Regions from separate parts of the Homo sapiens genome. Here regions 1, 3, 4, 5, 6 and 7 are each linked to region 2. Evidence: promoter capture Hi-C in 16 types of primary human blood cells and fetal thymus (Javierre and others, 2016). All regions are on one chromosome and are shown on one strand. The core of a region is centred on a gene start or on the middle of the fragment in contact, and the rest is flanking DNA. Distances in the headings are between cores, read along the strand shown.

Region 1 (3,307 bases), core at 665-3,164, 390 kb before region 2:
TTCTATGCTGAAAATTGACCCTGGATAGAATACTATAAGGTTTTGAGTTAGCTGGAAAAGTGATCAGATTAATAAATGTATATTGGTAGTTGAATTTAGCAAAGAAATAGAGATAATCATGATTATACCTTTATTTTTACAGGAAGAGATGATGTAACTAGAGTATGTGTCTACAGGAGTAATAATGGTTTCCAAAGAGTATTTTTTAAAGGAACAAAACGAGCATGAATTAACTCTTCAATATAAGCTATGAAGTAATAGTTGGTTGTGAATTAAAGTGGCACCAGCTAGCACCTCTGTGTTTTAAGGGTCTTTCAATGTTTCTAGAATAAGCCCTTATTTTCAAGGGTTCATAACAGGCATAAAATCTCTTCTCCTGGCAAAAGCTGCTATGAAAAGCCTCAGCTTGGGAAGATAGATTTTTTTCCCCCCAATTACAAAATCTAAGTATTTTGGCCCTTCAATTTGGAGGAGGGCAAAAGTTGGAAGTAAGAAGTTTTATTTTAAGTACTTTCAGTGCTCAAAAAAATGCAATCACTGTGTTGTATATAATAGTTCATAGGTTGATCACTCATAATAATTGACTCTAAGGCTTTTATTAAGAAAACAGCAGAAAGATTAAATCTTGAATTAAGTCTGGGGGGAAATGGCCACTGCAGATGGAGTTTTAGAGTAGTAATGAAATTCTACCTAGAATGCAAAATTGGGTATATGAATTACATAGCATGTTGTTGGGATTTTTTTTAATGTGCAGAAGATCAAAGCTACTTGGAAGGAGTGCCTATAATTTGCCAGTAGCCACAGATTAAGATTATATCTTATATATCAGCAGATTAGCTTTAGCTTAGGGGGAGGGTGGGAAAGTTTGGGGGGGGGGTTGTGAAGATTTAGGGGGACCTTGATAGAGAACTTTATAAACTTCTTTCTCTTTAATAAAGACTTGTCTTACACCGTGCTGCCATTAAAGGCAGCTGTTCTAGAGTTTCAGTCACCTAAGTACACCCACAAAACAATATGAATATGGAGATCTTCCTTTACCCCTCAACTTTAATTTGCCCAGTTATACCTCAGTGTTGTAGCAGTACTGTGATACCTGGCACAGTGCTTTGATCTTACGATGCCCTCTGTACTGACCTGAAGGAGACCTAAGAGTCCTTTCCCTTTTTGAGTTTGAATCATAGCCTTGATGTGGTCTCTTGTTTTATGTCCTTGTTCCTAATGTAAAAGTGCTTAACTGCTTCTTGGTTGTATTGGGTAGCATTGGGATAAGATTTTAACTGGGTATTCTTGAATTGCTTTTACAATAAACCAATTTTATAATCTTTAAATTTATCAACTTTTTACATTTGTGTTATTTTCAGTCAGGGCTTCTTAGATCTACTTATGGTTGATGGAGCACATTGATTTGGAGTTTCAGATCTTCCAAAGCACTATTTGTTGTAATAACTTTTCTAAATGTAGTGCCTTTAAAGGAAAAATGAACACAGGGAAGTGACTTTGCTACAAATAATGTTGCTGTGTTAAGTATTCATATTAAATACATGCCTTCTATATGGAACATGGCAGAAAGACTGAAAAATAACAGTAATTAATTGTGTAATTCAGAATTCATACCAATCAGTGTTGAAACTCAAACATTGCAAAAGTGGGTGGCAATATTCAGTGCTTAACACTTTTCTAGCGTTGGTACATCTGAGAAATGAGTGCTCAGGTGGATTTTATCCTCGCAAGCATGTTGTTATAAGAATTGTGGGTGTGCCTATCATAACAATTGTTTTCTGTATCTTGAAAAAGTATTCTCCACATTTTAAATGTTTTATATTAGAGAATTCTTTAATGCACACTTGTCAAATATATATATATAGTACCAATGTTACCTTTTTATTTTTTGTTTTAGATGTAAGAGCATGCTCATATGTTAGGTACTTACATAAATTGTTACATTATTTTTTCTTATGTAATACCTTTTTGTTTGTTTATGTGGTTCAAATATATTCTTTCCTTAAACTCTTCTTTGTTGTTTTTAACAATTGATATTTGAAACTTTTTTTTTTTTTGGCTTCTTACTGGTCTTCCAATAGAACAAGAACTGGCAATAAAAGGTGATTACAGTAGTAACTGGGAAGACAAGTTAAACTTAAGTTTCGTTGTGCTTTAAGTTAGGCTTGACATTTGGAACTTTTGAAGTATGGATATATAATTCTTTTAACTTTGTGTTCTTACTCTTCACATACACCATCCTCATCCGTGGTAGTGTCTAAGCAGAACTGCGTCTGCTTGATTCTTAAATGACTTCACTACATGTGACGGCACAGAGGACACTGAGAACATAAGAACATGGCACTGTCTTTCAGAATGGCCTTTGGTTTTACTTCTTTAATATATTCTCTCAGGCCAGGCGTGGTGGCTCACGCCTGTAATCCCAGCACTTTGGGAAGCCAAGGCAGGCGGATTACCTGAGGTTGGGAGTTCAAGACCAGCCTGACCAACATGGAGAAACCCCGTCTCTACTAAAAATACAAAATTAGCTGGGCGTGGTGTCGCATGCCTGTAATCCCAGCTACTCGGGAGGCTGAGAATATATATATATTCTGTTCTATTTTGGAGGTCATGAGAGAATATTATATATTAGTAAAAAGCATTACTTACTGGCTTATAAATAAAAACATTCACAAATTGAAGTGGTAGGTCCTGACCTTTGAATAAGAAGTAGATTTGAGTATCTTTAAAGATGGCTGGACGTGGTGGCTCACGCCTGTAATTTCAGCATTGTGGGCGGAGGCTGAGGCGGACAGATCACCCGAGGTCAGGAGTTCGACAGCAGCCTAGTCAACATGGTGAAACCCCATCTGTACTAAAAATACAAAAATTAGCTGGGCATGGTGGTGCATGCTTGCAATCCCAGCTACTTGAGAGGCTGAGGTGGGAGGATCACTTGAACCCGTAAGGCAGAGGCTGCGGTAAGCCAAGACCACGCCACTACACTCCAGCCTGCGTGACAGAGCGAGACTCCATCTCAGAAAAAAAAAAAAAAAAGATTGATTTCTGTGTTTGCGTGTATAATAGCTTCAATTATTGACACATCTATTTTGGTGAGGCAAATCTGAAAATGCTTCATATTTTACAATATATAATTTCTTTATGTTAGAACACTAATTTCGTGTAGCTTGAAATTGATTATTTCCTTTTTGTAGTTCAGATATAGTGGTGGTACATCTTGGCTCAAAACCATACCTTGTGTCTGTAGACACTGTGCTTGTTGCTCCACGGTGGTACACTTTTTGTCAGATGGTGTGAAGCCCAGTAA
Region 2 (3,794 bases), core at 722-3,221:
CTCTGCCTCCTGTCAGATCAGCAGAGTCATCAGATTCGCATAGGAGCAGAACCCTATTGTGAACTGCATGTGTGAGGGACCTAGGTTGCATGCTCTTTTGAGAATCTTATGCCTGATGATCTGAGGTGGAACAGTTTCGTCCCAAAACCATCACCCCTCCAGCCTCCTACTTCCCACGTCCATGAAAAACTGTCTTCTATGAAACTGGTGCTTGGCTGGTCTAGCCTTATTCCTTAATAGACTGGTCAGGGGTGACTAATTTTTTCTGCAAAGGACCAATAATTAATATTCTTTGCTTCTAGGCTAACCTCTGCCATTGTGGCACAAAAGCAATCATAGACAATCTGTAAACTAAGGGGCAGGGCCAACTGTAGTTTTCCTGAACTGTGGATTAGAAGGGGGGTCTCCCAACACCTCAGATCCATTCTGGCCTCAGCATGGCTCTCCTTCTGGAGGTCACAAAACCTCTTTAGTTTCAGAATCACAGTGGCATGAGGCAGGGTAGGGAAAATTACATTTGGGAAGAAGGCACCTAAAGCTAGGTGGCATGGACAAAATACAATTGAATAAGGATCCCAGTATCCTGAGTTATTTTGAATTTAGTTCATCTAAAAGTGGGCTAAAGTCAAAAGAAGTTCAGTTCAACATGGTTGTGCTGGGCATCAGCTGTGCTGTTCATCTGCGGGGCTGATATTTAAGTGTTTAATGACTGGTATGGCCGGGGAACTGACCAGTTAATAAGGATGAGTGGCAGAAACAATCGGTAGGGACATGCCATTGCACATGGGTGCAAATCAGCTCTACGATGCAGACAGCCAAGCGGTACACAGGTGCAGCCTGGCAGTCAGGAAAGCAGCCCTGAGGCGGAGCTGGTGATCACAGATGTGCTGTAATGTTGGCAGACTCTTGAAAGGGAGGCCTGTGTGCAAAAGCATTTCCTCTATATATCTTTCACTAATGTTGGAAATTCCATCCGTAGACATCCATTTCTTTAGGTTAAGGATGCCACCCTTCTTTTAAAAACAAAACACGCTTGGAAGCATATATATATATATATATATATATATATATATATATATATATATATGTAGAAATCATTTTGAGTCAAGCAGTCTTTGTGAAATATTTGAATATGGATCATTTCTATCAGACCCTTTCCAGCAGTCATAGAGGAGAGATCTCAAAAGAGGAAAATACACAAAGTTTAAGTACATAAACGTTGTACTTTGTACTTACTACATAAACTTTGTTATGTACTTTGTACATAAACTTTTACTTCATTGGGGAATATGCTTTAGGGAGAAAAGGCCTTCAAATGAGAAGTGGGTTGGCACCCAGGAAGAACTTAGTCCACTTTAAATTTTGATCAGGGTTACCTTGAATATAAGAGCCATTTAAAAAGTGGAAACACAGGAAATCTCCTTGTTGTGACCGCTAAAGCTTAGCACTAAATTCACAACCTGCCTCTAGCGTGTGGATTATGCCTCGGTTTTTATTTTTCTGCTTCTATTTTTCCTCCTACATCATTCCCGGGAAGTACTTGTTTGCTCCTTTTATATTGCATGGTTTTCACAAGCCACCTGGAATTCTTTATGAAGCAAGATAGCTAGGTAGATATATCCTCATGTATTTATTCAGTCATGTAACATGGTACACCTAATATGCACCAGACACCAATCTAGGTGGACAGAAGATAGCATCAGTTAGACTTCAATGGACTTATATAAAATGATTTTAAAAGAACAATAGAATTTTTTTCTTATTTTCTCACTATGCCCTTTTAGGTTTTCTAGGGCAGAGGAGCAAGAAGGAATTGGGCAAAAATTCACAAACCTGTGCGAGGCGGTAGTTGTTCCTCCAGGTCCTGGGGGAGGCTGCAACTAGGGAGGGGGCTGCAGTGGAAAACTTCAAAGCCATGATGAGGAAGACAGCAAGGCCAGATGCAGGGAGCACCTTCATCCCCTCACAGTAGCTTGGTAATTATATCAGCCTGGGGGATGGCAGACAGTGCACGTTTGCACTTCGACCTTGAGCTCCTTTTATAGAGTCAAACAGGTCTGGACCCTCCGAGCAAGGATGATTCATGTCTCAAACAGTAATTATACAGCTCATTTCTCTCCCTGATGATGGGGTAACACAACTGTACACAGGAATCAGGGAAAGCTTCATATTTTTTTTGTTATTTACCAAGTGGCAAAAGGAGAAAAACAGTCACTTTTAATGAAGTTGGTCAGCTAGTTACAAAAATTGAAGTAAACTTGATTGATTTGAACCCAACTCAACTGAAACATTTGATTAGTCTTCATTTGGGGGCCTTTTTCCATTCTGATTACAGAAAAGTTAGATGATTACAGTATAATTGAATTTGTCCTCCAAGTAATCCCAAACTCCCCATGCATTCAACCCAATCGCCTGTATCTCCTGCATTCACTTCAAAATTTCTTAGTAGCAACTGCTGTTCATAATGATGGCTCTGAGACACATAAGATCCTGAATCATCAAGGCAAGATTACATTATACTGTGCTGACTTAGGGTGGAAAGTGAACTGGTAACTGTTAGAAAGCTTTTGGATGAATTAAGGCAAGAGTTACGTCTTCGTTAACCAAAACAATAGCCAGAACTCCCCAATCTCTGTGTACTCTGGTTAATTGGAGTCATATTGTTTTTCCTGGGTCTGATTAAGATGGATTTGGATCCAGAGATGATACGGTGAAATGGTGTCATATGGTGGGAAAAGCACTTAGAGTCAGACAAAGCAAGACTAAATATTTAAAAAGATATTTCCTAGCTGTGTGATGTTGGGTATGTCATTTAATCTCTGAATATCAAGTTTTTTTTAATCTACAAAAGACTGACAATACTACTACTATGTATAAACTTTTCAGTGTTATGGAGTAACACATATAGCATGACATCTGCAAGCACCACTTGGCATCCACTAGATGTGGATTCAAATCCTAATTTTGATTTTAGACTAAATTCAAGGTTATTCCTATAGTGAATACAGTGAATTCCTATAGTCTTTCTCACTCTGTTGCATTTTGATATGCTTTCTTTGCATGGAAGAGAAGATGGTGGAGTTACAGCCAATGTTTGGTATCTAGTGTACAACCCCAGGCACTGAACAAGAGTTTGTCACACATTAATATGGTTTGGCTCTGTGTCCCTAACCAAATCTCATCTCGAATTGTAATCCCCATGTGTTGAGGGAGGGAGGGGATTGGATCATGGGGGTGGTTCCGTCATGCTGTTCTCATGACAATGAGTGAGTTCTCACAAGATATGATGGTTTTATAGGTGTTTGAAAGTTCCTCCATTGATCTTCTCTCTCCTGCTGCCTTGTCAAGAAGGTGCCTGCTTCCCCTTTGCCTTGCACCATGATTCTAAGTTTCCTGAGGCCTCCCCAGCCATGTAAAACTGTGAGTCAACTAAGCCTCTTTCCTTTATAAATTACCCAGTCTCGGGTATTCCTTTATAGCAGTGTGAGAATGGACTAATACACACAGGCAAACAGAATTTCTGGCATGTACTGTGAGATAGACAAAACATGTGTCTCAGAAGAAGAAAAAAGAAAACCACAGATTAGATTCATTCAACTAAATTGTAAGCTGTTTGAAGACTGTATTCTAAAAAATGTTACTTAATCAAGTTTGTTAAAAAAAAAGAATGAATGAATGTACAAACATATACTAATCATTGCTTTTTGGTTTCAGGAAAGGAATAGGATATTGCAATAATTTTTCAAAATTTGCATTTATATGGTCTCCTGTCTTCTAGAGCCTTATCTTCAACA
Region 3 (3,361 bases), core at 168-2,667, 410 kb before region 2:
AACTAATATAGGAGCAGAAATTAACTCAAAGGAGATTTGGATTCAGGTAAAAAGTCCTCCATGCCAAAAAAATGTTGAAATTGTTTCCTTTTTTCCCAAGGTCTTATACCCTGAATCTGATAAATAAGTCAAATTCTTCTTGATCTTTGTTTCATACTTGAATAGAAAAGTAAATCTTTACTGTTATTAAAATTATCAGGAATTCTTAGATTTTTTAAAATAGTAAAGTTTTAGAAAAGGTGAGGCTTATTAGTAGTAAAGCTTCTAAGATACGAAGATTAGAGGTAATTACTCAGATTTGCCCAGACCAGAGCAAAAAACTTGAAAGAGGTTTTTAAAAATCTTCTTTGCATATGCTGGAGATTAAAATATTGGTTTGTTATATATGCTTTAGTTGTCAGTGTTTAATATTTACCTGGCATAATTGTGGAAAGTTATCAGTAAATGTATGAAATTCAAGTATAGGGTTATATTTGAAATAGATCAAGAAATCTGGTGGTATTTGTATCAAGAAAGCATGTGTATATTTTTCTCATCCTATTATTTTCTAAATAACCTTAAGGTAGATGTCAGGAAATAGATCACAAAGAAGAGTCATGTCTTTTCTTCTTTTTTTTTTTGAGATGGAGTCTTGCTCTGTCACCCAGGCTGGAGTGCAGTGGCGCAATCTCAGCTCACTGCAACCTCCACCTCCCAGGTTCAAGCAATTCTCCTGCCTCAGCCTCCTGAGTGGCTGTGATTACAGGTGCCTGCCACTACGCCCAGCTAATTTTTTGTGTTTTTAGTAGAGACGGGGTTTCACCATGTTATCCAGGATGGTCTCCACCTCCTGACCTCATGATTCGCCTGCCTCGGCCTCCCAAAGCACTGGTATTACAGGCGTGAGCCACCGCGCCCAGCCAGAAGAGTCATATCTTAAGTGAAGATGGCTTTAAATAGTGTTTCTCAGAATAATCAAGAAAGCTAGAAAGGACTTTTCAGCCCCAAAGAACAGAGGGTATAAAGACATCACTCAGTATCTGAACACTAGACGCTGTTGTAAAGTTACTGGGTTTTTAACTTATACTTTGTAATAGATATTAATGCAGCTGAGTTAGCAAGCAATAGTGAGATCAGTGTCATTTTCTAATCGTATACCTCATATGCTGTGGGATGTGGAAAGCCACTAAACTTCAAAATGCTTATGAATTACTACAGAAGCTGTCTTTAAGTACTTCCTATAGGATTTAACATATCATGTGGCTGTTGTAGGGTGCTGTGCTCGTGTACACTAACGTCAGTATGGGTGAGGTTAATGAAAAATTCCAAGATCCATGGCCCAAGTGATATTGAAATGTAAAATTTTGAAAAAACTTTAAAGGCATTTATATATCTTCTTAGTTAAATATGGAAATTATCACCTTAATTTATTATACTATGTTGGCAGGATTTTGGAAAAATTCATCCTTACAGAGCTTAACTTTTTATTTTTATTTTTATTTTTATTTTTATTTTTATTTTGAGACGGAGTTTTGCCCTTGTCGCCCAGGTTGGAGTGCAATGGCATGATCTCTGCTCACCGCAACCTCTGCCTCCCGGGTTCAAATGATTCTGCCTCAGCCTCCCAAGTAGCTGGGATTACAGGCATTCGCCACCATGCCCGGCTAATTTTGTGTTTTTGGTAGAGACAGGGTTTCTCCATGTTGGTCAGCCTGGTCTTGAACTCCCAACCTCAGGTGATCTGCCCACCTCGTCCTCCCAAAGTTCTGGGATTACAGGCATGAGCCACCACACCCTGCCAAAGAGCTTAACATTTTAATTTCATTTTGGTTACTTATGATTTTTATGTTTCAAAAGCAATTTCCATTCTCAGAAGAAACTTTCTGAAACTGTAAACATCTTTGCTTTGTGAGATTGAGCAGTTAATGCTATTTTCTAGTCATATCTCTGTTACACATCAGTGCTCACTTGTAAATTGGAGAGACCTTTTGAGCAAGTGGGTTTAGGAATGCACTCTAGCTTCTGTTTTAAGGTCTTTTGAGAGAAGAACTTTGAGGAAAGATAGTCCCCCCTGAGGTGCGAACACTTCTACCTTCTCTTGTGCTTAAGAATATGGTTCTTGGACTGGGGGCGGTGGCTCACGCTTGTAATCCCAGCACTTTGGGAGGCCAAGGCGGGTGGATCACCTGAAGTCAGGAGTTTGAGACCAGCCTGGTCAACATGGTGAAACCCGTCTCTACTAAAAATACGGAAATTAGCTGGATGTGGTGGGGCGGGCGCCTTTAATCCCAGCTGCTCAGGAGGCTGAGGAGGGAGAATCGCCTGAACCTGGGAGGCAGAGGTTGCAGTGAGCCAAGATCGTGGCATTGCACTCCAGCCTGGCGAAAAGAGCAAAACTCCGTCTTGAAAAAAAGAAAAAGAATTTGGTTCTTAATATCTGGGGTTCCCTAGTACCTATGAGATCGAGTTTAAACTCTGCAACTGGCTCATGGTCTGTGGTCAGTAGCCTTTTCACTCACTGGTTCCAGTTAAGCCAGTAACTCTTCCATTATTAGCTAAGTGTACTCCACTGCCTTGTTGCTGTTATTCTGCTCACAAGCTTTTCCCCATAGTGAGAACCTTGCTTATCCCCTTTCTTACCAGTAAAGATTCTTCATTTCTGTTTTAAGGCTTAGGGTGAGATTCATTCCCAAGTGCCCTTATGAGAATTCTTGAGGCAGGGCACAGTGGCTCACGCCTGTAATCCCAGCACTTTGAGAGGCCGAGGCAGGCAAATGACCTGAGGTCAGAAGTCCGAGACCTGCCTGGCCAATATGGTGAAAGTCCATCTCTACTAAAAACGGAAAAATTAGCTGGGCTTGGTGGCATGCACCTGTAGTCCCAGCTACTCAGGAGGCTGAGGTGGGAGGATGGCCTGAGTCTGGGAGGCAGCGGTTCAGTGAGCTGAGATCATGCCACTACACTCCAGCCTGGGTGACAGAGTGAGACTCTGCCTCAAAAAAAGAAAATTAGAGAATTCTTGAAACTACCCAGAAATAAAAACAACACTGCTGTATAAAGATGTCTTAACTCAGTAGCCAGTATAATTCCAATTTAGGTGGTCAAAAGTATGATATGGGGTTACTTTCATTTCTGGGCAAGTAATTGCTTCAATCTGTATAGAAATTACAGTATAAATATTTGGCAACTACTGAATAATGTGTAGTTGCCATTCCTTATAGGTGGTAATGAATAGACACCAAGGTCAGTCCCTGGTTTAATGAATAATAAAGCCCACAGTATTGCTGATGAGGATATTATACTGCACCATTACCTCTCAACAGTGAAGAGGTTCAGATGTTCACAGTTGTAGTTAATGAGAACAAAATAATACCATTGTTCA
Region 4 (3,700 bases), core at 29-2,528, 440 kb before region 2:
GGCTGAGTTCTCTGAGATGGACTGTGGCAGACCCATCGGAGAGAATATAAGTGGAATTTACAAAATGAAGTGAGTGGAGCAGGTAGGGAAGGTTGGTTTGTATCCTAGGTATCTCTTGTGGCTCTCATTCAGACAGCTAAGGTGGGGAATAATGCTGTTTCTGTGTGTGTGTGTGTGTGTGTGTGTGTGTGTGTGTGTTTAAACCACATATATGAAACCCATATATTCAAGCAGGCTTGAAAGCTACAATGAGGGCCGGGCGCGGTGGCTCACGCCTGTAATCCCAGCACTTTGGGAGGCCGAGGCGGGCGGATCACGAGGTCAGGAGATCGAGACCATCCCGGCTAAAATGGTGAAACCCCGTCTCTACTAAAAATACAAAAAAATTAGCCGGGCGTAGTGGCGGGCGCCTGTAGTCCCAGCTACTTGGGAGGCGGAGGCAGGAGAATGGCGTGAACCCGGGAGGCGGAGCTTGCAGTGAGCCGAGATCCCGCCACTGCACTCCAGCCTGGGCGACAGAGCGAGACTCCGTCTCAAAAAAAAAAAAAAAAAAAGAAAGCTACAATGAGATCTTGGGGTTGTTGAGTTGAGGCTCCCAAAGGCATTCAGTGATTGCTATTGACTTGTTCATCACCATGTATAGTCACATGGTATTTTCAGTGCCTAAAAATTTTAAATACAGTTAGTTGTTTTGCAAAAGCTTTTTATAATTCAGCCATTTTACAGTTAAAGATAGTAGCAAACCATTAATATTCAGTTTTGGAGTTCTGTCTTTCTGGGGAGGAAATAGAGCCCAAAATGACAGTGAAAGCTGGTGAGAAAAGGTTTGATATACATGTGATAAACAGGTTTGCTTCTCATTCAGCCTCTGGTAAACTTGGGATGTGTACAACAAATTCTACCTCTGGACTTGGTTAGTAGTGTGTACTACACATCCAGGACTGAAGGGGAGCCTTCCTAAGGATTCTAGGCATGGAGAAAACTAATTCCACACGTCTGCATTTCCTAACAGGATTTTACCCCATCAAAGTAGACCTTTGAAAATGCAGCTGCAAATTGATCTGTTCCTAATACGAATGAAACTGGCCTAAAAATAGGACTTTGGGTCCCATGGGCCTTGTGTGAGTGGTCAGTTTAACCAAAGTTACTTATTCAGCATCACCCATGAGACTGGTGTGGACTGCCAATACAGGAAGAAGGGAATTGTTCTATTTGTGCATAGGAGGGATACTTAGGCTCTGGTCATCTGTGGGAGATGAGTGAAAAGAAGTATAGTTGTGAAGAGCAGTCAGTGGGTTAGGAATCACGCTGCCTGGCTTTGAGTACCATTCCTGGTACTAACTAGCTTTGGGATCTTGTACCAGACTGATCAACCTGGCACTTTGTGCCTCAGTTTCCTCATTAGAATAAGTAGTACTACTGCTTATGTCATTTGTTTACTGTAAGAATTAAATGAATTAATGTACATAATATATAAGAACAATGACTAGCACAAGATAAGTGTTCAATTCATGTTAGTCCACAGAAGAAAAGATTTTAGCCATGTACTGACCATCCCAGTTTGTATCTCCTGCCCTGCCTCTTTTGATTCCTGTTGGAAATGGGAACTGGGGGAGTTGGGAGGGACAAGGAAATCAGGAAGAATTATGTTTGAATACTTTAGTTATTTATTCTGGGCCTCTCTTTTCATTGCTGTTACCTCCCAAGAGCAATTGTCTTGACTTCTCTATTCCTATAAAGATAGGAAAATCCTTTTAGAGTTAACTGTATTCTTTAGTCCTATCTCTCAAATGATGTTCCTTAAAGTTTGCCTTCCAACAACTTTAGCACTTATCTTGCCTCCTCCCAAGCCTCCAACAAGCTTAAACTTCAAATTGCAACCCCAACCCATTAGCAATTTCTGGTCTGCTGAAAAATAAGCTTTGTTTGGACTGTAGCTTTCTGTCTTACAGTTTTCTTGGTGTGAGCCACTCACATAAAACATGGAAATAAATAGAGCTTGGCTGTCTTAGCTAAAATGTGCTTTATATTAAATAGAATGTTTATGATATTTTCAACGTTCTAAAAATACTTGCATGTATTTCTTATTAATGAACCTTGGTGTTCCTAGGAAGGTATTGTCACAAAACTGATTGGATTGGGTGGTAGTTTCTGAGCTGCAAGCTCTTCCGTGTCTTATGTTAACAGTAATAGTAATTATTTGGGCCATGACTTCCAAAAGGATTTTTTGGAAAAAAATTTTTTTTCTTCATCTCTGTGTTGAGGAATATTCATTTTATTATTTGGTGGTTTCTTTTTAGTGGAGAAGAAGCAGGTATATAGGTTTACCTTTCTTCTCTGAACACAGCCTTAAATATGTTTCAATGAATTGTTTTATGTTAAGATGTGTTTTCTTTTTAAATTAGTACCCCCTCCCACTTTTTTTTAGGTGCACCAAATAAAAACCATGATTTTTTTTTTTTTTTCTGTATTATAGGTCCTCTTCCTGATGGATGGGAACAAGCCATGACTCAGGATGGAGAAATTTACTATATAAACCATAAGAACAAGACCACCTCTTGGCTAGACCCAAGGCTTGACCCTCGTTTTGGTAAAGGTTCATCTCAAAACCTTTTTAGATGCTTTTGGTTGCTAATTTTTTTTGTAAATATACTTCGGAAAGCACATTTAAATAAAATCGCATTGCTTTATAGTATTAAAAAATGACCCTGCCCACCCAATGTTTACCAGTAGTGTTTTTATCCTTCTCATTGTAAACTTGAGAAATTTAGATCTGAATCAGATTTTTAGGGCTCCTCAGGTTGGGGTGGGGGAATGTCATAATGGCCGACTAACCAGAATCACTTGTTCCTTTCACATTTTGGGAGAAACACAGTGATTGTTTTTAAAATGTTTTTTTTTTTTAGCTGCAATAATAATCAGGCTGTCATGCAACACCTCAGACCAGGAGTACCAGCTTTTGTCAGTGACCTGATGTCTGCTTGTGCTTAGGTTCTGAGAGTGATGAGTACCATCTTATGCCTGGGTGTTGTAGTGTTTCCCATCCTAAGGAGGAACATGTCACCCCAGAAATGGCCCAGTGAAAGCATTTTGCCCCCTCTTCTGTCTCTCTCGAAAAATAAATGTTTTTTTTTCTTCATTCAGAAAACAAAGAAAGCCATATTCCCCTCCAGATCTCATGAATAAATCACATTTGCACAAAGGAACCCCTCCCCTTCCAAATGTGTACATTTTGATAAGGGTGTAACCAGTTCTTCAGTGCTTTTTAAAAAATGTGTGTGTGTGTGTGTGTGTGTGTGTGTGTGTTTTAAACTGTTTTCAGTTTTTCATTTGGGTTTCTGAGATATTTTTCCAAGGCCATGGAATATGCATCTAAAAAAGAGCAGATAATTGTGGTTTTGAAGCTTCATCTTGGACTAGATGCAGCTAAATGAAAACAATGTGCAGATCACTGAATAGGTCAGACTGAGGGGACTCGGAACCTTTGAAGCTTTACAGGGTTTGACCTAACAACAACTGCGGGGCCCTCACGGGAAAGAGGAATTAACTCTGTGAATGCCATGAAAACACAACCCTGCGGGGGGAAAAAAGAAAAAACTGTATCTGGAGCTGGTTGGATAAAATAACTTCTCCATCGGGAATATTATGAGCAGTTATTTTGTGTCTTATATATACCTTTAAAAAAATAAATTCAAGTTTG
Region 5 (3,423 bases), core at 840-3,339, 360 kb before region 2:
TTGGGTATCTCTAGACAAATTTTTTTTAAAAGAAAGAAAAAGTTCATAAGGGTTTAGCACTCTTCTTGCGGTCCTGAAGTGCAGCCTAGGAAGAAAGGCAACCTTTAAAAGGGAATGTAGGCTGGACACAGTGGCTCATGCCTGTAATCCTAGCACTTTGAGAGGCCAAGGTGGGCAAATCACTTAAGGAGTTCAAGACCAGCTTGGCCAACATGGCGAAACCCCGTCTCTACCGAAAATACAAAAATTAGCCGGGTGTGGTGGTGTGCACCTGTAGTCCCTGCTACTCTCGGGAGGCTGAGGCACGAGAATCGCTTGAACCTGGGAGGCGGAAGTTGCAGTGAGCTAAGAGGGTGCCACTGCACTCCAGCCTGGGTGACAGAGTGAGACTCTGTCTCAGGAAAAAAAAAAAAAAAAGGGAATGTAAGTAAGCCTTAGTTGTGCCTGTTTTAGAGTTAGCCTACCTGGGAGACAGATGGCGGGTGGAGGGAAGAACCAGAATGATAAAGACCATACATTACACAAGTCAATGTTAGCTAGTTTTCCTCAAGGTCAGTGAACGCTGACTAATGTCAACATATTAGGTTAGAGAGTATCTTAAACTTCCACCAAACAATCCTGAAAAAACGAAAGGGAATATATATCCTGAGGGTGAGAGGGCTGTTGGAGAGATGATGCTGGCACTGCAAACAAAAATTTCTTTAGAATTTGCTGTTTGATCTTAAAAATTCATATACATGTTGCATTCTGTTTGGTTTTTAATATAAAATATTTTAGGCTAATCACCATTCAGCAAAATTGATTCTCCAAAAAAACTGCATCCCTGTTAGTCTATGATTTTGCAAAGTCTATAGGCCATTGCTATGGGAATCTCTGAGGGGGCTGTACTGTCTGTCATTTGAGAAGCACATGAAAAGCAATTAGCTCATTTCCAAATGTTGTATATGAAAATATTGTGACTTTTGTAAAGCGTATTCAATCATTTAGCCAAATATTTTAATAGCCTGAAGAATCCCAGGGAATATAAAGTTAAACTTTGGCCTGTTCTGTTCTCAGTTGAGCAGATGAAGCTTTGCATGACTCCTTTCCTGCAGGAGATGCTTAGTTAAATCAGAGGCATTGCTCATTCTAAAAATTTGATCCAAATCTAGAGTTAGTGTTAAATGACACCATATGTTTCCTTTGGTTAAATAAGGTCAATAAATCATGTTCCTTTTTGTTTCAGAAAACTGAGATATTTTAGTCTATTCATGTTGAAAGAACACTAATTGTGAATTTAAAAAACATGAAGGGGTTGTGGGGCTCTAAAAAACATGGAGGGGGAGCGTGGCCCTAAGTCTGTACTTGGCCTGATGGTCTTATCTTCAGAATTCTGGGGTATATGAGGTATTACTATAAAGATACAGGTCTGCTTCAAAAAACATATATCTTATTTTATTTTATTTTTTAGAGATAGGGGCTCTGCCGGGTGCAGTAGCTTATGCCTGTAATCCCAGCACTTTGGGAGGCCGAGGCGGGCGGATCACGAGGTCAGGAGATCGAGACCATCCTGGCTAACACGGTGAAACCCCATCTCTAGTAAAAAATACAAAAAGTTAGCCGGGCGTGGTGGCGGACGCCTGTAGTCCCAGCTACTGGGGAGGCTGAGGCAGGAGAATGGCGTCAACCCGGAAGGCAGAGCTTACAGTAAGCCGAGATCGCGCCACTGTACTCCAGCCTGAGCGACAGAGCAAGACTCTGTCTCAAAAAAAAAAAAAAACAGATAGGGGCTCCCTGTGTTGCCCAGACTGGTCTCGAACTCCTGGGCTCAAGGGATCCTTCCACCTTGCCCTCCCAAAATGCTGGGATTACGGGTGTGAGCCACTGCGTCCTACCACAAGTATGCTTTGCTTTTGTTTCTTTTTTTTTTTTTTCCTTTTTTAACTTCTTATTTAAGAAAAAAAAGAGAGAGAGAGAGAGACGGGGGATCTCACTTTGTTGCCCAGGCTGGTCTCAAACTCCTGGGCTCAAGCAATGCCCACCTTGCTTTTCTTATGGCTTAAAGTAAGTAAAATAAAATGCTTTGAGAAATGATGGCATTGTTAAATAAACATATAACAAGAAAAGACAATACTCACTTGAATATACAAGTTAAAATTTAAAAATCATCAGTAACTAAATGAACATCAGAGTTAAGCACGAATTCCTTCCTTCAAAAAATGAAAAATCTCATTTTCATTTTTTGAATGAATACTCAGGCCTCTTTGATTATTATAACGATCCCAAAGTCCCTATACTACTCAATAATTATTTTGCCTGAAAATATGTGGAGGAGGAGGGGATTAATAAAGATAAAAATCTCTTAATTGAATATAAACAATTTAACTGTTCAAGAATTCCCCAAGTAAATTTTATCTACATAGTGTGGGTTAAATGTGGGGGGAAAAGGGATGGTAGATGCAAAATGCAGTTATTTGCTTCAAAAATCTATCTGTGTGAGTAGCTCCAATGTATAAAAGATCAAATGAAGAAAGTTTTACCGGCTTGTTTCCAATGCCTCCGACTTATCTGGGTGGATCTTCCCCTCTGACTCATTCTGGAACAGTCCTCCATAAGTCAAGGAGACAGTTTACAAGCTGGGGAGGTTTCCCTTCATAACGGCTGAGGGAACTTATTCTCTCCACAACCACGGTTCAATGTGTCAGGTACTGACATAAGGAAAGAATGTCTCTGACCTAAGGAATTCATAATCTAATAGGGGAGACGGACAAATAAATAGGTAAGTTTAAAAATGTCAAGTTCCCTGTCAAGGTAGAAAAGTATAGGGTGTCTTGGAGCACAGAAGAGGGTGTCCAGAAAGGCAAATGCAGATCAGATACAGAAGCAAGGCGTTGGGGTCCAAAATGCCCAGGTGGATGTCCTGGTCGGATCTCCAGAGTCCTACAGAGGACTTCCTCCACACAGGGCGGGTCAGTTTCAACCCATGGGAATGAAAGGGGGGGAAAACATGGAGAGCAGCTTCCAGCGCAGGGGGAGGAAAACATTCCCCAAGGAAATACTAGATTCCTGAAATATGTCCAGCCCTTGTGGAAAAGATGTAGTTCGGGCTGCAATTCGAGCAAACTTCGGAGAAGCTTCAAAAGCTCCGACTTGGCAATTCAACTCAAAGCGCTCTTCCAAGCTCTTCCTATTCAACTGCAACTTCTAAGGCAAAGTCATTGTTTACAGCCTGGCGGAGTTGGAAGAGTCTCCAAAAACACAACTTGCCGTGACAGTTGGAGTTTATAACCACCCTCGGACTTTAATGACAGGCAAGTCTGAGAAGCTTCCAGCACCACGGCCTGACTGACTTCTGCGGGGCTGGAGGGAACGGTGGGTCCCAGATTTGGGACCACCCTTCTGCAGTGAACACCTCCCCCACATTCTCGTTTGCCACGCCTCTAG
Region 6 (3,313 bases), core at 608-3,107, 460 kb before region 2:
CATAAAAGAGAAAGCTACACCGTGCTTTTGAAGCACTCTACTGGGTTAATCATGCTAAATGCAACTTGATTTACATTTTTATTACTCATTATTTAATAAGGACTTCCTCGCTTTGCTTTTTTTTGAAAAAGAATTCCCATCATTCATAATTGAGTCCAGCTTCATGTTCTGCTCTGAGATCTTGTTCCTCATCCAACTGCTTTCCTTAAGATACTGTAATTTCCTCTAGACTCCCCAAACCTGTTTTCTGCATAATTTTCATGGTTGACTAGGATGAAAGATCTTTTAAGATTCTTTCCAATTCTTAAGATTTTATGAAACTCTATTTTGTTTTCTAATTGGCTTTAGCAAAAATGATCAGTATAATTATGCTTTTATAAGTCCTTTTTCAAAATATGAGGTTGAAATGGTAGATACTACATATAGCCTAGAGACCAGTGGTTTGTGATTGGGCAAATTTCCAAATATCTATAACTGAGAATCACCCAAAACAAAGATGCACCTGGAAAAGGTTCTAGAGGCAACACTCAATACATCCTTGGAAGAAGATTAATTTATATTCTTTAACTGTGCCATTTAAGTGGCAGGGTAAATGACAGCAAGCTTTGTGAAAGAATTTGAAAGGTGAAGAAGAGGAAAATGGAAAAATAAGAGGAAATGGAATAATGTATTAAGATAATGGTTGTACTTTACTTTATATTAAAATATTCAATGTATAAATATATGTATAAATAAGTCTAGTCTATTAAATTACTTGAGGTGAATGTCCTTTGAAAGTTAAAATTTATAGCTGGGTGCAGTGGCTCATGCCTGTAATCCCAGAACTTTGGGAGGCCAAGGTGGGTGGATCATGAGGTCAAGAGATTGAGACCACCCTGGCCAACATGGTGAAACCCCGTCTCCACTAAAGATTTAAAAATTAGCTGAGCATTGGTGGTGCACGCCTGTAGTCTCAGTGACTCCGGAGGCTGAGGCAGGAGAATCACTTGAACCCAGGAGGCGGAGGTTGCAATGAGCTGAGATTGTGCCACTGCACTCCAGCCTGGTGACAGAGCAAGACTCCATCTCAAAAAAAAAGTCATAATTTATAAGGCTGGGTGTGGTCGTTCATGCCTATAATCCGAGCACTTTGAGAAGCCAAGGTGGGAGGATTGCTTGAGCCTAGGAGTTCAAGACCAGCCTGGGCAACATAGGGAGACCCCATCTGTATTAAAAATAAAAATAAAAATTAGCCAGGCATGGTGGCCACACACCTGTGGTGCTAGCAACTTGGGTGACTGAGATTGGAAGGATAGCTTGAGCCCACGAGGTCAAGGCTGCAGTGAGCCATATTTGCACCACTGCATTCCAGCCTGGACAACAGAGTGAGACCCTGTCTCAAAAAAAAAGTTATAATATAAATTAGTTATTATATATAATAGCCTTTTGATGCCTGCTTAGGATCCGTAGTTTTTCTCCCCATATTGAGAGTTAGGTAAACATTTCATGATTTTTGTGTTCAGCATTAGAAAAGAAAGCCCTGGGGAGTGAAAAGTGATACTTCCTTAGCTCTATGTGTATGATATATATTAAATTTTTAAATAGTGTACTTGTTAACACTGATCCACAAGATTGCTGAATCTTCAAGGGACAGTAAAGTCAAAGTATATTCTGTGATAATCCAGAAATAACTGTATGACAAATGACTAGGATCAATAAAAGTTATGTCTTGATTTATATTAAGCAGAATCAACCCATTTATCTGCTTTTGAGAAATGTACATTTGATAACAACCCAAAGCCTAAATGTCTTATTACAGGTACATTTTAGAGAATTCATTATTTATATGCTTTAAAGTTAGAAATTGTTGGGATTTATTTGACAGTTCCCAACTCTACCAATGTAGCACTTTCAGATTTCTCTATTATGAAAAACTGTGAGGATTTCCTAGGAAATACCTCAAGATGGGTGGAGAAAATGCCCTCTTGATCATGAAAGGTGATACGTGTTAGAGGAATGTGCTAAGCACCTTCCTTGAAGTGGGGAAAAATGTTCAGAAGCAAGCAAAGTGAGTAGTATAGAGCTGCCTTAAGGTTTGCCTCTTGTGTTCTCCTGCCTGCCTGTGTAATATCTCTCAGCACTGAAGATCAAATGAGAGATTGTTACCAAGAAAAATGAGAGAGCTAGAAAATAGATGTGAAATATAAAAATGATGGGTAAATTACACATTGATTTAGGTTTTAACTTTAAAAAGCACAGAGAGGGTAAAGATGTGAGAAGTTGCAGAACCAACAGGGTTGAGGTGTTGGTAATTCCTGCTTTATGTGCTGTAATTCAGAAACTTTAAAGTTTTACTTTTCACCTTTGAAACTGAGAGACAGTTTACATTAAGGGTTAAGACCAAGGGCTCTGGAAATCCCATGGACCTGATTTGAATCCCAGGCGTCATCTATTGTCCATGAAATCTTGGACAAGTTACTGTATCTACCTGTATTCTTCACTTAGAAAAATGAGATAATAACTCATAGGGCTGTTGTGAGCATTAAATGACAGAATCCATATCACATAGTTAAAATGTATTATTAATAGTGTACAGTGCCTGGTATAAATGTGATAAAATAAATGTGATCTGATATTTTAGAATTTAATCAGTTTGTAATACCTGGTAGCCACTGTTACTTTGTTAAAAATCTGTTACCACACTATCTTTGAAGTTATGTTTATCTCTGTAGGCTTTTTATCATCAAATTGAGGTCATTGGCTCTTCCAAGTAGTTGGTTCCTGATTCTTCTAAAAGTTCTGGATTATTATAAGATGGAAATTGTCAGTCTGAAGTCACAATATATGGGAAAAGACTATACTAACGGGAAACCTAATAGCAGTGAACTATAACAAAGCCCAAAGTCAGAGCAATGAAGAGATAGTGTATTTGACTAGTTACTCTCGGGCTTGTATTCCAAATACCTTTTTTAAAAACTTTTAAAATAAAAACACTTATTTTTTTTGAACAAAATTGCTGTTTTCTTTTTCCCATCTAGAAGTTCAGGTAAATTAAGAGAAATGGCCCTATAAAATGGAAAAATAGTATAAGGAAAAGCATAATAATCTGGAATCAATATAGCCAATCCTTAAGAAGCTTGGTTTGTTTTATATAGCTTGTGGCTTGATTTATTTGATGATTAAGTTCCTGAAAAATGATAATATGGAAACAACCACCATTTTTCTTACTTAAAACTATGGCCAATCCATTTCATTTTAATAAAATATGCCAATATGGAATATGATGACTTAAATTTTTTCTTTTTGAAATAAAAAAAGTAATTCAGTTATAATA
Region 7 (3,526 bases), core at 800-3,299, 370 kb before region 2:
GCCCCGAGATCTATGGGAATCACAGCCTGCTGTTGTGCAGGTACCCCTCTGCCACCTCTGGAGCCTCTTAGTGGTCCCAAGGTTGCCTCCCTCTTTGAAGAGCCAGCTCAAGGTATAATTCATTTTAGTATCATTTCTGTTTTGTTCTTACACAGATTCAGAAGATTCGTGTGTATGACATTTAAAATAAACATAAAAAAACTTATCCACATTTTGTCATTTCTCTTCATACTGTTTGTTTTTAACATTTTATTATAAATCCTCAAAATCCTAATTATCAACATACTTATTACTTATACCAGAATTACAACTTAATAAAACCAGAACAAAACCTACACTATTAAGAAATAGCAGGCTGGACGCATGGCTCACACCTGTAATTCCAGCACTTTGGGAGGCCAAGGCAGCTGGATCACTTGAGGTCAGGAGTTCAAGACCAGTCTGGCCAACATGGTGAAACCTCGTCTGTGTTAAAAATACAAAAATTAGCTGGGCAGTAGTGGTACGCACCTGTAATCCCAGCTACTTGGGAGGCTAAAGCAGAAGAATCACTTGAGCCTGGGAGGCGGAGGTTGCGGTGAGCCGAGATCACGTCACTGCACTCCAGTCTAGGTGAGAGAGTAAGACCCTGTCTCAAAAAAATAAAAATAAAAAAAATAAAAAATAAAAGAAGCCGGGTGCGGTGGCTCACGCCTGTAATCCTAGCACTTTGGGAGGCCAAGGCGGGTGGATCACAAGGTCAGGAGTTCCAGACCAGCCTGGCCAAGATGGTGAAACCCCGTCTCTACTAAAAATACAAAAATTAGCTGGGTGTGGTGGTGGGTGCCTGTAATCCCAGCTACTTGGGAGGCTGAGGCAAGATAATCACTTGAACCTGGAGGGGGAGGTTGTAGTGAGCTGAGATCGCACCACTGCACTCTGAGCTGGGTGACAGAGCAAGACTCCATCTCAAACAAACAAAAAAAGAAATAACAACAACCGTGCCACTTGAGGATAGTTATAAACTGGTGAGCCCACCAGCACCCAGAGAACCTTGTAGAGGATGTGCCATGGTGCCCACCTTGACACAGGCTGAACTCCAAAGTAAAGTGCTTGAGTTCTTCAGGGGTTTCAAGGACAGGAGCTCACTGATTTATTATTGCAATTTTCTAAATAATTAGCTTAAACAAATGGCTTACATTAGAATTTATATTATTATTTCATTTTATAACTTACTGAAGTTATACTTTTTACCAATTGATACAATAATATTTCAATATTTAGTCAATCATTCTGGTCTTCTTGGTTAACATATAAGCTGAATATTATAAGCCTAATACACTGCAAGACACATAGAAAGTGCCCCCAAACTGGCTAGTAGATAAATAACTGTATGGATGAAAATTGGTTTTGGTCCAATATTTTCCTTCCTATCATTTATTAATTTTGACATTGCTTGGTGGTGATCATTAGTGCTAAGCATAAAATATTTTCAATATTTTATTTTGAAAATTTTCAGCTCTTTGCTTTTTTAGCACATGGTGGGTGTGACTTCTCTGCCTTTCTGGAAGCCATGTGACTTGCTTTGGCCTGCAGAATGTGAGCAGAAGTGATGTATGTCACTTCTGGTGGAAACTGTACTGTTGGTGCATTGTCAATACCCCCTTGGCCTACCCAGACTTCCATTTATATTCTCTTGGCCTGTGGATATTCTCTAGCTTCAGAAGCATGACAGACCTGTGTTTGGGGCTTATCAGAACTTCCAATTGTTAACCATTCAGGAGGGACCCAAAACCACTGAGGGATGCGCTAACACCTGTGTTGGGTTTTTTTGTTTTTGTTGTTTTTGTTTTGTTTTGTTTTTCGAGATGGAGTCTCACTCTGTCGCCCAGGCTGGAGTGCAGTGGCGCAATCTCAGCTCACTGCAAGCTCCACCTCCCGGGTTCAGGCCATTCTCCTGCCTCTGCCTCCCTATTAGCTGGGACTACAGGCGCCCGCCACCAAGCCCAGCAAATTTTTTGTATTTTTATTAGAGATGAGGTTTCAACGTGTTAGCCAGGATGGTCTCGATCTCCTGACCTCATGATCTGCCTGCCTTGGCCTCCCAAAGTGCTGAGATTACAGGTGTGAGCCACCCCTCCCAGCCACCTGTGTTGAGTTTTAAAGGATGAGTAAGAGATAGCCACTGAAAGAAAAATTGTAAGGGGATTCTAGGCAGAAGGGAAATATAAGGCCAGGTGCAGTGGCTCACACCTGTAATCCCAGCACTTTGGGAGGCTGAGGTGGGAGGATTGCTTGAGCTTAGGAAATTGAGACCAGCCTGGGCAACATGGTGAAACCCTGTCTCTACCAAAAAGTGCAAAAATTAGCCAAGCATTGTATCACATGCTTGTGGTCCCAGCTATTCAGGAAGCTGAGGTGAGAGGATCACTTGAGCCAGGGAGGTCGAGGCTGCTGTGAGCCATGATCACGCCACTGCATATTCCAGCCTGGGCGGCAGACTGAGACCCTGTCTCAAAAAAAAAAAAAAAAAAAAAAAAAAGGGAAATATAAGCAAAGACTGAGTACAGTGAAACAGTATGGTTTTTTTTCTGGGCTGTCCAGCAAGAGGCTGGAAGCAGCAGTGGCTGGAGATAGGCAAAGGCACACAGGTTACAATGTGGAGGATGGCTTGAAGGAAGGACAAGTCTGGAAGATTAGTTAAGAGGCTGTTGCATAGGCCAAGAGAGTGATAATAAGGACCTAAGTGGGTCCATGGTAGTAGAGATGGTGAAAGGGCTTGAATCTAGAAATAATTAGCAGGTATTCACAAACTTGTAATTGATTGGAAGTGGAAACTAAGGGAGATGAAGTCATCTAGGATGATGCTGGATTTCTAATGGATGGTGGTGCCACATAAGGGAGACAGGAGGAGAAACAGATTCAGGGATATGGTAAGTTCAATAGACTTGGTGAGATCTTTAGATCACAGATCTAATCATATTACTTTCCTATCTTATACACTTGAGTGGCTTCTCATTACTTTTAAGATTTAGTCCCAAACCCTATATGATTGCAGGGCCTTGTAAAATCTTGTCCTTTCCAGTTCTCCCCTTCACTTCCTCTTCTCCAGCCATGCTGGCTTCTCTGTTCCTGAAACCTGCAAACTCTTTTCTATCTCACAGCCTTTCCTCATTCTGTTCCCTCTGCCTGGAGGACAGTTCTCCCAATTCCCCACTCATCCTTCAGGTCTTAGCTCAAATATCATTTCTTTAGGGAAAACTTCGCTGAGCCTCTGGTATAAACTAGACCCCTGGCACGTGCTCTCAAAGCCCCTTGTACTCCTCTTTGTTGTACTTTTCATAATCCTAAGTAAAAAATTGATGTATTGGCTGGGTGCAGTGGCTCACACCTGTAATCCCTCGTCCTCCTTTGGGAGGACAAGGTTAGCAGATCACAAGGTCAAGAGATCGAGACCATCCTGGCCAACATGGTGAAACCCCATCTCTACTAAAAATACAAAAATTAGCTGGGCGTGGTGACACACACCTGTCATCTCAGCTACTCG

Evidence for each region. Contacts are between HindIII fragments. The CHiCAGO score rates a contact against its expected background, and 5 or more counts as called.
Region 1: a contact is called between a fragment that was not itself captured here and the fragment with the promoter of MMP20 in region 2, in 2 of 17 cell types (non-activated CD4 T cells and naive CD8 T cells). The highest score is 5.5, in non-activated CD4 T cells.
Region 3: a contact is called between a fragment that was not itself captured here and the fragment with the promoter of MMP20 in region 2, in 6 of 17 cell types (non-activated CD4 T cells, total CD8 T cells, total CD4 T cells and 3 more). The highest score is 6.7, in non-activated CD4 T cells.
Region 4: a fragment that was not itself captured here is called in contact with the fragment with the promoter of MMP20 in region 2 in 5 of 17 cell types (activated CD4 T cells, naive CD4 T cells, naive B cells and 2 more); the score reaches 7.3 in activated CD4 T cells.
Region 5: a contact is called between a fragment that was not itself captured here and the fragment with the promoter of MMP20 in region 2, in 15 of 17 cell types (M0 macrophages, naive B cells, naive CD8 T cells and 12 more). The highest score is 13.4, in M0 macrophages.
Region 6: a contact is called between a fragment that was not itself captured here and the fragment with the promoter of MMP20 in region 2, in 2 of 17 cell types (non-activated CD4 T cells and M2 macrophages). The highest score is 7.0, in non-activated CD4 T cells.
Region 7: a fragment that was not itself captured here is called in contact with the fragment with the promoter of MMP20 in region 2 in 11 of 17 cell types (activated CD4 T cells, total CD8 T cells, naive CD8 T cells and 8 more); the score reaches 10.4 in activated CD4 T cells.

The regions. Positions count from the first base shown.
Region 1 is chr11:102,231,412-102,234,718 of GRCh38, forward strand. YAP1 (Yes1 associated transcriptional regulator) reads left to right here. Exons shown (of 9, transcript NM_001130145.3): 9 at 1-2,013. Among named protein-coding and RNA genes, the nearest start is that of BIRC3, 84 kb to the right of the region's middle. The HindIII fragment of the contact is 4,148 bases long and covers 1-3,307 here.
Region 2 is chr11:102,623,361-102,627,154 of GRCh38, forward strand. MMP20 (matrix metallopeptidase 20) reads right to left here and starts at 1,972. Exons shown (of 10, transcript NM_004771.4): 1 at 1,834-1,972. The coding sequence starts at 1,959. The HindIII fragment of the contact is 723 bases long and covers 1,439-2,161 here.
Region 3 is chr11:102,211,102-102,214,462 of GRCh38, forward strand. All of the region lies in intron 6 of YAP1 (Yes1 associated transcriptional regulator), which reads left to right. Among named protein-coding and RNA genes, the nearest start is that of YAP1-DT, 100 kb to the left of the region's middle. The HindIII fragment of the contact is 2,317 bases long and covers 260-2,576 here.
Region 4 is chr11:102,183,542-102,187,241 of GRCh38, forward strand. YAP1 (Yes1 associated transcriptional regulator) reads left to right here. Exons shown (of 9, transcript NM_001130145.3): 4 at 2,477-2,590. Among named protein-coding and RNA genes, the nearest start is that of YAP1-DT, 75 kb to the left of the region's middle. The HindIII fragment of the contact is 1,161 bases long and covers 699-1,859 here.
Region 5 is chr11:102,265,197-102,268,619 of GRCh38, forward strand. All of the region lies in intron 1 of LOC105369460 (a long non-coding RNA gene), which reads left to right. Among named protein-coding and RNA genes, the nearest start is that of BIRC3, 51 kb to the right of the region's middle. The HindIII fragment of the contact is 2,043 bases long and covers 1,069-3,111 here.
Region 6 is chr11:102,166,665-102,169,977 of GRCh38, forward strand. The region is part of intron 3 of YAP1 (Yes1 associated transcriptional regulator); the gene reads left to right. Among named protein-coding and RNA genes, the nearest start is that of YAP1-DT, 58 kb to the left of the region's middle. The HindIII fragment of the contact is 2,512 bases long and covers 602-3,113 here.
Region 7 is chr11:102,248,543-102,252,068 of GRCh38, forward strand. No RefSeq gene overlaps it. Among named protein-coding and RNA genes, the nearest start is that of BIRC3, 67 kb to the right of the region's middle. The HindIII fragment of the contact is 8,205 bases long and covers 1-3,526 here.